Linked DNA regions of Homo sapiens: region 2 is linked to region 1. The links are contacts of gene promoters, found by promoter capture Hi-C in blood cells and fetal thymus (Javierre and others, 2016). All regions are on one chromosome and are shown on one strand. The core of a region is centred on a gene start or on the middle of the fragment in contact, and the rest is flanking DNA. Distances in the headings are between cores, read along the strand shown. Region 1 holds the start of SAA4 (serum amyloid A4, constitutive). Region 2 holds the start of LDHAL6A (lactate dehydrogenase A like 6A).

Region 1 (3,321 bases), core at 231-2,730:
GCCCTCCTGTGGCTAATCAGTAGAAATTTGCTCTTTTTATTTATGGATAGAAGTTAGGGCTTAATTTTCATAAGCTCTGCATCCCAAGCATTGGCCATTTGCTTGGGTACAGGATGGGATTTCTCTACTCTCTGCTAGGCATGTCTCAGTCTTGGAGTATAATTGTGAACTCAGTATATTCCCTGAGGTGGATGAGCTAAATAAACATCATGCCCTGAGAAATCTGCCATCTGTAAATTTCCGCAGTGGGAGATAACCCCCTGGAAGTTTTTATCCTTCTGCACTCTACACCAAGAGTACAGGCTGGGCCCAAAGCATCTTTAACCTCTCGTCTGGAAACCCCAAGGGAGGGTGATAAATCAGACCAGCCTAGAGGAAGAAACAGATACAGAAAACCACACTCCTGCTCTGACCTCTGTGTGGCTTCTCTAAGGAGCACTCACATCCAGTGAGTATGTGGCCCCTGCTCAGAATGAATCCTGGGTATGTGCCCTCCATCCTCCAGAGTTCTTACCTTGGAGAGCCTCCTTGAAAAACGAACGCCAGCTTTCACTGGTGACTCCCATGACCAAGGAGCAGAAAACAATGCCTGTGAAAAGCCTCATTGTGCTGAAGAGAAAGAAAGACAGGGGCAGAGGATCATAAAAAAAAACACAGATCTATGTTTTGAGGACTGAATTTCTTTCCTTTTTTTCTTTCTTTTTTTCCTTTTCTTTCTTTCTCCTTCCTTTCTTTCTTTCCTCCCTTTCTTTCTTTCTTTTTTTTTTCCTATTGCCCAGGCTAAAGTGCAATGATATGATTAAGGCTTACTGCAGCCTCGACCTTCTGGGCTCAAGTGATCCTCCCACCTCAGCCTCCTGAGTATTAAGGACTACAAACGTGCACCATCACACTCAGCTAATTTTTTTTTTTTTTTTTTTGGTAGAGACAAGGTCTTGGTATGTATGTTCGGCCCAGGCTAGTCTCGAACTCCTGGCCTCAAGCAATCTTCCTACCTCAACCTCCCAAAGGATTACAGGCATGAGCCACTGTGCCAGCCAAAGGACTGAATTTGAAAGACTAATTCCCCATTTCCATTTGTTTGTATGAGAATCATAACTGCATGAAAGATTGAAACGGGTTTTAAGAAGAAGCATAAACCCTTAATTCTCAGCCCAGATCTCTAGAAAGAATAAGAGGATTCCAACGTGTTATTTGGTCTGTGGTCAATTTGTCACCCAATACAGCAGACTAAAGTCAATCAAGAAGCATTTCCTGAGTTCCTACTCTCCTCAGCACTGACCCCGTAATGAGGTAGAAAACACAGTTTCTCTCCAATTGAAATTTGACAATTATGTGAGAAAAGGATCTCAAAAGAGTCAAATAAGAGAAATTACTCCTTGGAAGAAACCTCACCTGTGGACCTTTCTCCAGATGAAATTTCAGTAAAGGCAGAGCTGCTGGTATCTTCTGGCCGTGGAGCTATAGTTGGTACCTCTGCTGGCTTTGGCATTAATGGGAGAACGGTTTTAAATCCAACAACCTGCCTTGCCAAAGTCCTTTTTGCTCAATTCTTTGGGTATTTTAAAAATTAACATATTGGGTAATAGTGTTTCCTTATCTAGAAGTAGTTTTCCAAATTGGGTCATCAAGGTATTTATTTTCTGGCAGTTTTTCTTAATTGCCACTTTTCCCTCTTTTTAGTTTCCTGTATCACAGAAGAGTTGTATTTGCAAAATCCAGTGTGGGAAGACAGAGGTCTTTCTCCACTTTCTTCTCTTTGTGTCTTTCCATTCTTAACTGTTTAGTAGGAGGTCTTCCCAAAAAATTGCACATAGATATTATGCTGTAGGAAGTGATCAATATTATTAGCAAAAGAGATGTTTGCTTGTCTCTTGTGACTTCTCTCTAAAGAATGTAAGGACACAGAACAAGCAAGACTTGACTGTACCATTCATGGGATGAGGTAATGATTCTGGGAGAATACAAGGACAGGAATAACACCAGAAGATCAAGGGTGAAGGCCTTTGAGGCATAAAAACTCTTTTTTCATATAAATATGTATTATTCTGCACTTTCTTTTAAACTTACTATTTATTGGAAGTCTTTCCATGTCGGGCTTGTTGCTTTTTTTTTTTTTTTTTTTACAGCTACACAGTATTCCATTGCATGGATGGACCATAATTTATACAATATTAATGGCTGTTTTGACAGTTATTAACCTTTTGATATTACAAATAATGGTGCATTTATTAACCTTGTACATATGTCTCTTGCACATGTACAAATATATCTCTAGGATAAATTCCTACAGAAGAAACTCCATGGTGAAAAAGTATCAGATTTTATAAATTTTTTGTTTGTTTGTTTGAGACAGAGTCTCACTCTGTCCCCCAGGCTGGAGTGCAGTGGCATGATCTCAGCTCACTGCAACCTCCACCTCCGGGGTTCAAGAGATTCCCCTGCCTCGGCCTCTTGAGTAGCTGGGATTATAGGCACATGCCACCACATCAGGCTAATTTTTCTATTTTTAAGAGAGACGGGATTTCGCCATGTTGGCCAGGCTAGTCTCGACCCACTTACCTCAAATGATCTGCCCACCTCGGCTTCCCAAAGTGCTAGGATTACAGGCATGAGCCAACGTCCCTGGCCCTAGATTTTATAAATTTTTATATGTTGCAAATTGCCTTCCATGAGGGCTGTATCAATCTCTACTCCCACCAGAAATGAGTGAAAGAACTTGGTTCCACATTGTCTCTCACACAGTATACTCTCAAACTTTTTGGTCTTTGAAATTGTGAGTAAAATAAAACTCAAAGTAATTTTAATTTACATTTCTCTTATTATGATTTTGGTTTCACATCTTTCCACATGTTTAAGAGCTATTTCTATTTTCTAGGAATTGTGAATTCATACCTTCATATCAAAGTAGTCATTTTTTACTGGTTTATTGTGTTTTTATTTATCACATTAGAGAAACTTTTTATATACAGGGAAAATGAGTATGTTATCTAGGATATGAGTTACAAATATTTTTCCCAGCTTATTTATCTTCTGATTATGATGGCTTATGTTCTGCCAAAGAAATTATTTATGTTCTTGTCTTTATTAATATTTTCTTTAGTTGTCTTCTCAATTTCATAGTATTTGAAGAGCTTTCCCTACTTTGTTTTTTTGTGGTTTTCTTAAACTCAAATGTTTTTATTTCATTCCTTTTTAAAAATTTTTTGTGGGTACATAGTAGGTGTATATAATTATGGGGTACATGAGATATTTTGGTACAGCCATGCAATGCGCAATAATCACATCATGGAAAATTGGGTATCCATCCCCTCAAGCATT
Region 2 (3,321 bases), core at 598-3,097, 220 kb after region 1:
CACCGTTTTGCCCAGGCTGGTCTCGAACTCCTAAGATCAGGCAATCCGCCCGCCTCGGCCTCCCAAAGTGCTAGGGTTACAGCCGTGAGCCACCGCGCCCGGCCAACTCCTTAATATTTAATTTCATGATGGGGGTGCAAAACAATTAGGGGGAACATATCTACAAAGACTCTTGAGGGAGTGATAATGAAAAAAGATTGAGAAACACTGCTCTACATTTTATAAAAATTTGTCAATATGTATTACTGTATTAGGGTTCTCTAGAGGGACAGAACGAATAGGATAGCTATATATATAAAGGGGAGTTTATTGAGGAGTATTGACTCACACAATCACAAGGTGAGGTCCCACAACAATAGGCCGTCTGCAAGCTGAGAAGCAAGAAAGTCAGTCGGAGTTCCAAAGCTGAAGAACTAGGAGTCCAATGTTTGAGGGCAGGAAGCATCCAGCACAGGAGAAAGATGAAGGCTGGAAGACTTAGCCAGTCTAGTCCCTCCACGTTCCTCTGCCTGCTTTTATCCTAGACGTGCTGGCAGCTGACTAGATGGTGCTCACCCGGATAGAGGGTGGGTTTGCGTCTTCTAGCCTACTGACTCAAATGTTAATTTCCTGTGGCAACACCCTCACAGACACACCCAGGTTCAACACTTTGCATCCTTCAATCCAATCAAGTTGACACTCAGTATTAACCATCAAAATTACGTATTATGATTCACAAATGAGAAAACAATTAGGTAAAATGTGGTGGGAGAAGTAGAAACCTTGGTTTATTCCAGACTGATTTTCAATTCTACATTTTTGTTTTTTATTTTTGAGACGGAGTCTCACTCTGTCACCCAGGCTGGAGGGCAGTGGCATGATCTCGGCTCACCAAAACCTCCGCCTCCCGGGTTCAAACGATTCTCCTGCCCCAGCCTCCTGAGTAGCTGGGATTACAGGTGCGTGCCACCACACCCGGCTAATTTTTGTATTTTTAGTAGAGACGGGGTTTCGCCATGTTGGCCAGGCTGGTCTCGAACTCCTGACCTCAGCTAATCCACCCGCCTCGGCCTCCCAAAGTGTGGATTCTACATTTAACCACTTAATAATGAATTGAGCTTTCCCTTCATCTTGTAAAAATGGTTATCAATTGGCACTGCATTCATCAAATTCTTCAGGTTTCATATCTTATTTCCAAATTCCTTTTGCATACAGAGTTTTGTTGTTGTTTTGAGACAGGGTCTCACTCCGTCACCCAGGCTGGAGTGCAGTGGCACAATTTCGGCTTACTGCAACCTCCGCCTCCCAGGTTCACAAACAATTCTTGTGCTTCAGCCTCCCAGGTAGCTGGGATTACAGGGGTGCACCACCACGTCCAGCTAATTTTTGTATTTTTAGTAGAAACGTGGTTTCACGATGTTGGCCAGGCTGATTTCGAACCCCTGACCTCAGGTGATCCGCCCGCCTTGGCCTTCCAGAGTGCTGGGATTACAGGCGTGAGCCACCACGCTCGGCCCAGAGTTTTAAAATTTTACTTTTTCTACTTTAGCTCACATTTGAGGTGGTAAAAGTTAATCTTGAGGTCCCTTTCTCCTACAGGGCTGGGGGAAAATTTTCACGTGAGAGTCAAACAGTCCTTTTCAGATACATCCAGACAAGGTTTGGTTAGAAATAAAATTACTTGGGCTCTCTGGTGGATGGGTTCTAGGCAAACAACTCCGCCCAACAGCAGAGGCCCTGCACTGCGTTGTGCCTGCAGCACCTCGTGCGCCTTCTGCAGCCGGCCAACCACCTACACCGCAGCCCGCCCACCCGCACGCGGGGGCGGGGCGGGCAGGCAGAGGCGCAGGCGCGGTGCTTCGCAGCCCGCTTCCGGCCTCACACCTGCCAAGCATCACACCTGCCAAGCATCACACCTGCCAAGCATCACACCTGCCAAGCATCACACCTGCGATGCCTGCACGAGCTGGGTGCGGTCCGCGCAGCTGCAGTAAGGGGGCGACCCGGCGTCTGTTAGTCGGCGGTTCATCTCCTTCGTGCCTCGATGAGCTTTAACGCCATTTTCCTCCATTCTCTTTCTTCACCTCTTGAGTGAGTGGCCATGAGCTGGGCTGCAAGAGTCCTGGGGAGCAGCCAGAGAGCGGGCGCCGCGGGAGCGAATTGTTTTTGCCCAAGGATGGTTCTGTGTCTCCGCCAGGCGGCATGTGACCTGCTCGGGCGCGGGTGGCCCTTCACCCCTGTGAGTGTGGCCAGAAGTACCTCTCACCTGGACCTGCGGACCCCGGGCGCAGTCCTGGAGCTGAGAACTGGAGGTTGGGGGAACAGCAGGGTAAAGGGGAGAGAAAAGGGGGTCAGCTGCGGGACGGAGTGCCGTCCCAGCTGTAGTTTCATGTTTGGTGGAGCAACCCCTGTTCCTTTCCTCTCTCTCTCTCTTAATTCCTCTTAACTGTACTCACGCTTCCTTCTCCTTCCCCTGGTCCGCTTCATGGATGCTGAGCTGCCTGGCCAGAACCTACCCAGCTTCTTTGCTGGTCAGATTTGTCGGTCTTTTGTGTGTCTGCAGCACCTCCTTCCACACGGGCCCAGGAGTTCTCTATACGCGCTCTCACCGCAGGTCTTGGAATTCCAAGCCATTTCCAATTCCAGGTCTTGGAAATGGCTGTGCAATTTGTCTTCACTGTTAGGTTTCCAAGATGGCAACTATCAAGAGTGAACTTATTAAGAATTTCGCGGAAGAGGAGGCCATTCATCACAATAAGATCTCCATTGTAGGAACTGGATCGGTTGGTGTGGCTTGTGCTATCAGCATCTTATTAAAAGTAAGTTGTGTGCTCTGCACCACAGGGTTCACCTCAGTTGGAGGCGAGGCCACAGCGTATGGTTGTGGAGGTTGTGTCCAGTTCAAGGTGGTGAGTGGGGAGCCAGTGTGAGGGGCATCAGAGGAAAAGGTGCCCTTTTTTTAGTTGTTCACCCAGAGGGCGCTCCTTTTTAAAAATTGTATGATGATATCATGTGGGTTAGAAGCATCTCTGTGAAAGTATGTTGACATTTCACTTTCACGTAATGACAATATGAGGTACCCCTTTGCTTGATTTGGAAACTCAGCTCACAAAACAAACTGGAGAGAAATAGGTGGCAGAAAAGAGTATACAAGCGTGTCAGTGATGGTAGGCAGCCTACGAGTACCAAATACAATAATCTTTTTTCATTTAAATATCTCTCTCCCATTTCCTAGTCTGTATATCTTTATTTCCCTTCGTTCCTTATTCATGTTAGGTTAGTTTTAGTGTTTAGCTGTTCTTAGTATTGATACAGCTGATAAAGTTTTATGGCTATAGACAG

The links. The method cuts DNA at HindIII sites, captures the fragments that hold promoters and counts their contacts. A CHiCAGO score of 5 or more calls a contact.
Region 2: the fragment with the promoter of LDHAL6A here is called in contact with the fragment with the promoter of SAA4 in region 1 in 8 of 17 cell types (M2 macrophages, naive CD8 T cells, total CD4 T cells and 5 more); the score reaches 8.2 in M2 macrophages.

The regions. Positions count from the first base shown.
Region 1 is chr11:18,235,322-18,238,642 of GRCh38, forward strand. It overlaps SAA4 (serum amyloid A4, constitutive), which reads right to left and starts at 1,481. Exons shown (of 4, transcript NM_006512.4): 1 at 1,396-1,481; 2 at 515-609. The coding sequence starts at 605. SAA2-SAA4 (SAA2-SAA4 readthrough) reads right to left here. Exons shown (of 6, transcript NM_001199744.2): 4 at 515-609. It also overlaps a transcript of SAA2 not described here. The HindIII fragment of the contact is 10,895 bases long and covers 1-3,321 here.
Region 2 is chr11:18,454,009-18,457,329 of GRCh38, forward strand. LDHAL6A (lactate dehydrogenase A like 6A) reads left to right here and starts at 1,848. Exons shown (of 7, transcript NM_144972.5): 1 at 1,848-2,798. The coding sequence starts at 2,673. The HindIII fragment of the contact is 8,824 bases long and covers 1-3,321 here.